Linked DNA regions of Homo sapiens: regions 2 and 3 are each linked to region 1. Evidence: promoter capture Hi-C in 16 types of primary human blood cells and fetal thymus (Javierre and others, 2016). All regions are on one chromosome and are shown on one strand. The core of a region is centred on a gene start or on the middle of the fragment in contact, and the rest is flanking DNA. Distances in the headings are between cores, read along the strand shown. Region 1 holds the start of NUDCD2 (NudC domain containing 2). Region 2 overlaps RARS1 (arginyl-tRNA synthetase 1). Region 3 has its middle 11 kb from the start of RARS1.

What was found. Contacts are between HindIII fragments. The CHiCAGO score rates a contact against its expected background, and 5 or more counts as called.
Region 2: a contact is called between a fragment that was not itself captured here and the fragment with the promoter of NUDCD2 in region 1, in 2 of 17 cell types (non-activated CD4 T cells and total B cells). The highest score is 7.3, in non-activated CD4 T cells.
Region 3: a fragment that was not itself captured here is called in contact with the fragment with the promoter of NUDCD2 in region 1 in 1 of 17 cell types (naive CD8 T cells); the score reaches 10.1 in naive CD8 T cells.

Annotation. Positions count from the first base shown.
Region 1 is chr5:163,458,616-163,461,516 of GRCh38, reverse strand. It overlaps NUDCD2 (NudC domain containing 2), which reads left to right and starts at 1,415. Exons shown (of 4, transcript NM_145266.6): 1 at 1,415-1,655. The coding sequence starts at 1,467. It overlaps HMMR (hyaluronan mediated motility receptor), which reads right to left and starts at 885. Exons shown (of 18, transcript NM_001142556.2): 1 at 779-885. The coding sequence starts at 824. RefSeq lists enhancers at 639-698, 1,449-1,698 and a silencer at 1,029-1,118. The HindIII fragment of the contact is 3,644 bases long and covers 1-2,144 here.
Region 2 is chr5:168,491,038-168,493,938 of GRCh38, reverse strand. It overlaps RARS1 (arginyl-tRNA synthetase 1), which reads right to left. Exons shown (of 15, transcript NM_002887.4): 3 at 1,092-1,280; 4 at 1-45. Among named protein-coding and RNA genes, the nearest start is that of RARS1, 6.0 kb to the right of the region's middle. RefSeq lists an enhancer at 2,770-2,901. The HindIII fragment of the contact is 6,048 bases long and covers 1-2,901 here.
Region 3 is chr5:168,474,199-168,477,099 of GRCh38, reverse strand. No RefSeq gene overlaps it. Among named protein-coding and RNA genes, the nearest start is that of RARS1, 11 kb to the left of the region's middle. The HindIII fragment of the contact is 2,470 bases long and covers 258-2,727 here.

The DNA.
Region 1 (2,901 bases), core at 166-2,665:
GGCCGCATACAGCATCTTAAATGATGAGTGCCTACCAAACACAGCTAAGGCTTCCTGGTTACTGTGCTGTGCATTGCGGTGTTAAGAGCACACGATGGGGGCTGGGTTCATATTCCAGTCCGGTCACTTTGGTAATGTAGCACTGAGCAAATTTAAGTCTCAGTCTTTTTATCAATAAAATAATAATAGGATTACCCCTTAGAGTTGGTGGGAAATTAACATAACTAATAATCGATGTAAAGCCTTAGTACGGTGCTTGAGGTATAAGTGGTCAATATCAGCCATAACTTCATTGTTTATGTTTTCAATAAGTGCTGCTGCTCTAATTTTACACCCATAAACTGCCTTTACTAATCTTCCTTCTTTTATGCCCAAATGGAATACACAAAAGAAATGCACAAGTTCAGACTACAAGTAATACTCCAGTGTTCTTATCAGTGAGGCCCTCTCGGACTTGAAAATCAAGTAGCTACCAACGTCTCGGGTCCATTCCCTTCGCCCTGCTGTAGTTTCTCCATTACCGCTGTTTATTGACAGTATTCCCCGCCTGAATGTAAGCCCCACGGGGCGGAGACTGTTTCACTGCGGTATCCTTAGCATCCTGATTAGTGCTTGGCATGTAACAGATGCTTAGAGCATATTTGAGAAAAATCAATCAACTGAATGAGCCCCAGCCCGACCCTAAAATCGCCTCCTGCTTGCCTCCCAAGAAGGGAGCTGAAAGAGGCAAAGGGCGTTAGGGCGTCTCCCGTCCCCCAGCTCTTTCCCCCTTACGCACCAGAAGGGTCATTGAATCGTTTCAAGGGCGCCTTAGGAAAGGACATGTTGACGGCCAGCTCCAGAAACTGAAGGTGACTGGCACTCCTCGACAACTGAATGCGGATTATCACTCCCTACCGGTTTCAAATTCAAATCTCCCCACATTCCCCACCCACCCCGGCGTTAGCCAATTGGAAAGCCAAACCCCTGGGCACACCAATCCCGCACAGGAACACGAAGAAAGAATGCTGGGTTCTGATTGCGTCCAATTAGCTGGCCTGCGAGTTTAGGCTGCCATCCAATAGGAGACCGTTACTGTTCCCCGCCCCACCCACCCAGTCATTCCCGGAGTTACTCAAGTGTAACCTAGCATTTGCGCAAGCGCACTTCCCTCCGGAGACGTTAGAAAGTGCATTTTGGCGTCACTTAGGGGACGGTGTAGTGAGTTCCGGCTTCACTGGTTCCAATTCTGTCCCATTGTTCGTTGCATGTGAACTTTTCTGGATTTCAGTTCTTTCATCCGGGGCCTGCCGGTGCCGTAAACGGCCATTCAAAGGGAAAAACGAACACGCACACCAAAGCGCTAGCTTGCGTTCCTGCGCATGCGCAGTGACCCGAGCGGAGAGGCCGAGGCGTAGCCTAAGCGTGGGATTCCGCGCGTGCGCTCGGCTCCGCCTGGTGCGGCCGCGGCCGGGAGGGACTGGATTATGTCGGCCCCGTTTGAGGAGCGGAGTGGGGTGGTACCGTGCGGGACCCCGTGGGGCCAGTGGTACCAGACCTTGGAGGAGGTGTTCATTGAAGTTCAGGTGCCGCCAGGCACGCGCGCCCAGGATATCCAGTGCGGCCTCCAGAGCCGGCATGTGGCGCTGTCGGTGGGCGGCCGCGAGATCCTCAAGGTAGCGGCAGCTCGGGGCTTGTGTTCAGTTTCCTCTTCCCAGACGCCCCCAGCCCCGTTTCCCTGAACGACTGTTGGGTGTCCCGACGGCTCCTGTGGCTGGCAGAAAGAGAAAGAGGATAACACTGACCAGGTTTGGGTCTGGTCAGAGCCCCCGCCTCTTCAGGGCAGGTGCTGAGTTGTGGAAATTTGAGGAGCCTATTTTCGTGTTTAGTTTTCAAACTAAGACTGCTGCTTCTGCTTCTCTGACGGGCTTCAGCTGGGAACAGATTAACTAGGTTGCTAAAGGAACAAATATTTCTTCCGTGCACTGAAGACAGGCAGGAAGACAACAGATAACGTACCTGCAGTGGAGAGGTTAAGCTCCTGTACGGAAGCGTAATTCATAAATAGATAAATATAGGAAAGGACAACAAAGAAAATAGGGATAGAATAACGGGCAGAGAATTTAGAGATGATGTCAGGTGATTAGTTTTCTCATCTAAAAGCTTGAAAATCCTGCATGTTTGTGGAGTGGTCAAGCAGGTGGTGAAGAGGTGTGTGCATAAAATAAGTAGTACTCCTTTTATTTCTTTTCACCAATGCTCTTTGGATCTGGACCCGCTTTTTCTTTGTTAAGTGTATAATTAAACTAACAGGTTGAAATTAGATTTAGTTCTCAGGTTAGATGCCCAAGATGTTTGATGGCAGTGTAATATGGTGAAGGGAGACTACTTGTTTCCTAGTTTTGTAAACTTGGGCGAGAGATTGTTCAGTGTCTCTATATCTTCCTTATCCACAAGATAAGGTAGTTATAGTACCCTTCTCATGGGATTGTTTTGAGCTTAACATGGTATTCACGTGTATGAAGAGCTTGGAGTATTCACTGGTATGTAATAAGTTCATACTATATGTTAGCTATTAGCTATTATATATATTACAGTATATGGAGGTGCTTTGAGTGCCTCAAGATTCGTGTGAAAGACATTATGTCAGCTTGGATCTCAGTTACTTTTCTGAATTGTACAATTCATAGTTTCCTCAACAATGGTTTTAGATTACGATTATAAATTAGTAAATCCAGTAACTTTCGGAATTTAGCAGTAGCTGCTGAATTTGGGATTTCTGATGTACGTATAGACCAGTGGGATTTTTTTCTCACTAATTTTGACATATTTTAAAATGTGGGCTTTTCCTAGTGACATTTAATTTCACTTTCTATAACTTAAATTTGGCAACAAATTAAAATGGATTTGAGTTTAGGCATT
Region 2 (2,901 bases), core at 131-2,630, 5.0 Mb before region 1:
AGCAATTTCTCTTGGATTAACTTTCTGTTCCTTGGTTTTGAGCATCTACAACACAATATAAAATGATTCATTACACAACAGATTTCAGCAAGTTACTCGCAAATGCACACCTGACAAGGCACGAGATGCATTTTACGTTAAGAACCATCAAAAGGCAGAAGCAGAGAAGTCCAATCACATTATGAATGACAGATTAAAGTATCAATAGTGCCAAGAGGCATAGAAAGTGCCCACACTACATGATCTCTATTTCCAAATACGTTACACACAAATACCTGGAACTATTTTTTTTTTTTTTTTTTTTTGAGATGGAGTCTCGCTCTGTTGCCCAGGCTGGAGTGCAGTGGTGTGATCTCGGCTCACTGTAACCTCCGCCCCTGGGTTCAAGCAATTCTCCTGCCTCAGCCTCCCTAGTAGCTGGGATTACAACACCTCGAACTTTTTAATGATGACATAACAAAGTCTACAGTTATGAAGTCTGGTTCCAGCATATTTACATTTCTAATTTTCAAGCCATGAAGGTGTGCAATATTCACACTTGAGAAATAAACCACACTGTAAGACCTGGACTCTTCAGAGTAACCCCTTCCAATTCAGCAAAGAAAGGAAAACAGAAAGACCCAAGCCAGATGCAGTTAACCATAAACACATCAGACAATGCCTCTATTTAAAATGGGGAACTCCTCTGCTTGAAAATGAATATATAAGCCTGGCTCAAAGATCACAGTTACATCAAATATTTAATTGGGATGCTGACTGGTAAATGGCTTATTTTAATTTTTCACCTCCCAGCACTCATCACCACCACACAGCAATCCTGGACACAGCAGGAGGGAAATACCTAAACAAAAGAGTACCAATGATTGCCCTTAAATATTGAGAATACATATAAAATTTAACCAAACCTTAAAAATTGTGCCTAAAAAAGTTAAAACATATACCCCCCCAACTCCTTTCTCAAGTTTTTCAAACTGTGGCAAATGTCCTTTTCACTAAGGATACAACTTGTAATAGTATTATTTCTGTAAATGGCAATGATGATAATAATACTTAAAAAAATCAAACAGCCAAGAGTCATGACAATACATCACCTGAGAAATACCCATAGCACTATTACACTGATAGTCCCCAAACTTGGCCTGCTGACTTGGTGTCACTAGCAGAGGAGGATTTTCCAAATCTGGATATGCAGCCTTAATTGCATGACCAAAGACCTCTTGTAGGCGGCTAATAATGTTAATCATATTTTTAGTTGGTTTGTTCCTTTCTGCCTGAAGACTCTGTAGGAAAAGAATGGAAACATGTCAATAATGTACGTAAAACCATCATCATACAAGATGTCTCCAAATATTTTGAGTATAAACCTCCAAATATCTTAAGAACCAAAAGGGAAAACGTACTTATGGTGTGATGCCCTCAATCTGGGATTTGCTAAGACATGCAGCAGGACAAGTCCATCCCACGGCATCTAAGACATCCATGGGAAATGCCCTGAGGTCTTACTTTTTGCATTTGTTTTAGCAGAACAGAAACTGGGAGGAGGGAGTTAAAAGAGCTGATGGAATCCTTTTCTCAGCTTCTCCAAATCTCTGAGAAAATAATTTATTTCACATCAAATATTGGAAGTGAAAACTCAATGGACAAAAAACAAACAAAAAAATACATGATGTCCATCAAAATGTTGACCTCTTCAAGGCATGAAATAAAAGGGAGCAAAGCAGGTAATATTAATATACCAGAAAAGCCAGTAGTTTTGTTTTACTGTTATGAGACCTACTACCTCCTGTTTTCCCATGGAATATAGTCATTTAAGATGGCATATAATTATCTCTATTACTGCACTTATCATACCCTCACAAAACTATCTGTCTCTACCACTAGACTGCTGGATGCACACAAAGTGCTTAATTCATGGCTCTCTTCCCTGTCCCTGGCATCTAGCACTGTACTTGCCATACAGCAGTTTAGCAAAAAAAAAAAAAAAAAAAAAAAGGTGAATGACACATATGCTTTTAATAGAAGATAAACATGCTGCCTATACACCTTTATGTTTGTCAATTTTATGTTCATCAACATGTTCATCACAATTTTATGTTCATCACAAATTTATATTCATCAAAATGTCAACAGTATAAAATAATGACAATAACAAAAGTTAATACTTGAGTATGCAAAGATTTGAACCAAATGCTTTATTTATATGCATTATCTTATTCCATCTACATAATAAAATCGAGCTTGTTACTATTATCACTATTTCTATGTGGGCTACAGATAAGTCACTTGTCAAAGACAAGACAGAATAAGTGGAAAAGGCCAGATTCAAACTCAGGTCTATTGGAATGGACAGTCCAAGTTTTATGCTCCCCTCATCAGCCCTCTCTATCATATGAAGAAATTATATTCTTAAATTCACTAAAAAACCTGATTTCAAGTTTGTAGCTAATCAATAATTGACTCCTCTCTGTGGTAACATACTTAAAACAAGGAAGATACATTTTTCCCAATCTAAAGATTTCCAACAGCAAATGCCAAATTTACTTGGATATGATCCTTTTCTCTTCTTTGTTGGGGGTAACAGACAAGATCTCACTGTGCACTCTGCTGAGGCTAAAGTGCAGTGGCATGACAGCTCACTGTAACCTTGAACTCCTGGGTTCAAGACATCCTCCTGCCTTGGCCTCCCAAAGCATTGAGATTACAGGCATGAGCCACCACACTTGGCCTAGATTATGATCTTATACCCAAAACCTGCTATAATAAATGTCAATTTTTTGTTTATTTTTATGTATTTATTTTTTTGGGACCGGGTCTTGCTCTGTTGCCCAGGCTGGAGTGCAGTGGCACGATTTTGGCTCACTGCAACCTCTGCCTCCTGGGTTTAAGTGATTCTCATGCCTC
Region 3 (2,901 bases), core at 243-2,742, 5.0 Mb before region 1:
CAGTCCGTCATGGGGCTTAGGATTTTGGTTTTACTTCTCAAGAGAAAATGAACTGACTAGGAAGAAATGAAAAAAGCTATGGGGAGGGAAAGAATGACTGGAACCTTAAATTTTCCTTCTAGTGGTAAAGTTTTAATGACCCAGCTCTGATCACACACTACTTGTTTCCATAGGGAATAATGTTGATTTCCCCATCAATCTGTAAATGCTGTTTACTAGTTTTTAACTTTCTAAATCAACTCACAGCAGAGGAAGCTTTAGGATTACATGATTACAGAGCAGTGCGTAAATGTGATACCCTTTTTTAAACTATATAAAAATAATAATGTAACTAAGAAAAATTAGAAGTTGTGGCTGGGAAGGAGAAAGGGTAAGTATGTGCCATAATGTCCTCATCTTTATGGTGATGAGTGGAGAGGTCTTACTGAAGATGATGAATAAAAATAATACAGGCCATTTTTATTTTATTTTATTTATTTTTGAGACAGAGTCTCACTCTATCGCCCAGAGGTGGAGTGCAGTGGCACAATCTTGGTTCACTGCAACCTCCGCCTCCCAGGTTCAAGCAATTCTCCTGCCTCAGCTTCCCAAGTAGCTGGAACCACAGGCCCACACCACCCCGCCTGGCTAATTTTTGTATTTTTAGTAGAGAAGGGGTTTCACCATATTGGCCAGGCTGGTCTCAAACTCCTGACCTCAGGTGATCCACCTGCCTTGGCCTCCCAAAGTGCTAGGATCACAGGCATGAGCCACCGTGCCTGGCCTACTGAGCATTATTTTATTTTTAAATTTTATTTATTTATTTTTTTAGAGACAGAGTCTCGCTCTGTCACCCAGGCTGGAGTGCAGCGGCATGATCTCGGCTCACTGCAACCTCTGCCTCATGGGTTCAAGCAATTCTCCTGCCTCAGCCAAACGAGTAGCTGGGACTACAGGCGCATGCCGCCACACCCGGCTAATTTCTTCTGTATTTTAGTAGAGACAGGGGTTTCACTGTGTTGCCCAGGTTGGTCTTGAACTCCTGAGCTCAGGCAACCTGCCCGCCTCGACCTTCCAAAGTGCTAGGATTACGGGAGTGAGTCACTGCACCTGGCCCAGACCATTGTTAAAAAGTGGAAACCACCAGATAAACTACTGTGAGTGGTAGATTGCAGAGGGTGGGGGTGTCTTTTATTGTATATCTCATACCCTTCTACAGAATTGTGAGAATTTTTTTTTTTTACTGTATTGCCAAAGGATGAATTATAGCCAATTTAAAGATCTCAGTTGGCTTTATTGCAATTCTACAATTGGGCAATGCTTCGGTCCATGAAATAGAATCAGTGTTCCAAAGCGCTGAGCAGAATAGGCTGGCTTCATAGAGAAGGCCTGAAGGAAGCAGAAGCTAAGAACAGGATGTATTAGTCCTTTCAAAGTTACTTTTCTCATAAGATAGGGACATAATAGAATAATAGAAAAATAACTGCGTAGTTAACGACAGTTTCCTTCAGGCTACCTTTTTGCCTGTAAGGATTAAGGCAGAGGGAACTTCTTCATGACTGAAGGACTGAAGGCTTCAAAGGACCTGTCTGGGAAATTGGGTGTTCTCTCTCTCCCGATTTCCCTGAAGGTCAGGTAACTTAGTTTAGGTTTGGTGACATGAAACTTGAGCATGGGTGACTCCATTCTGATTTTTAGTCTGGTCTGTTGGGGCCTGGTGCAGGAGCTTAGTCCAAAACCATGGCCTCCTATCATTTTTACTTAATGATGTGTATCAATTACTTACATAATAATTGAAAACTAAGTCTAATTTTTTTCAAAAAAGACACTAGGCTCCCATCCTGAGGCTCTGGGAGAGGGCACGCTCTTTGAGACAGAGTCTCACTCCATTGCCCAGGCTGGAGTGCCGTGGCACGATCTCGGTTCACTGCAACCTCCGCCTCCCAGGTTCAAGCAATTCTCCTGCCTCAGCTGTGCACTCTCCTATGCACAGTGAGAATGCCCCCAAGCACACGGTGACTCTCCTAGGGAGGGGTGGGGCTGAGACAAAGCCCTGACCTAGGAGGAGGCAGGTCCCCTGATCCTTGAAAACCTCTCTTTTTCCCTCTCCCTCCTATCACAAGGGTGGTGGGAAGGCCCACCCAGGGTGCGTGAGCCACTGCGCCCGGCCCCAGATGTTTTCATCATCACTATTTTTGCCATTTCTTTGTTTCACCTAAGTACATATTTTTCTTTAAATTGATTCACTTTATTAACTTAAATATTTACTTATCCTCATCTTAAACAGTAATATCTGTGAAAGCATGGGTTTGATGGACAAGTTATATATTATGTATATTAAAACAAATATGACTATAAATATAAAAATTCACCCATGTACCACCTAACATTATCTCCTGTCACCAATCATACACTTATGCCTCCCTCTGGGGAAACAGTGCATCCAGTCACTTGTTGTCATAGCAGCCTGCAGAGAGGGTTGAAAACCATTTGGAAGTGTGTGCCCACATTCGTGTTGGTACTTGGCAGGATTGGAATTAGAACTTTGGTCTTAGCTTAATTCACTCACTGAACAAGTGTTGGAGGGTCTGCCATCTGTCAGGGACTGTCATGGCCCCAGGGCTAAAATAGTGAACAAGATATGCATGGTGCCTGCCCTGTGTCTCCAACATCCTAATAAACAGACAGATAAAACTAAAGAATCAAATACATAAATGCAAATGGTAAAAAGTACTGCAATGGCAAGCTTGTGTTCTTTTGTTACTCTAATTAGCTTCATGTATATTTATCAGCTACTCTGTGGTTGGTTGCAAATTTATTACTTACCACATTCTCCTAAATACATTTATTCAGGCCAGTGCCATGGCTCACGCCTGTAATTCCAGCATTTTGAGAGGCTGAGGCGGGCAGATCAGTTGAGGT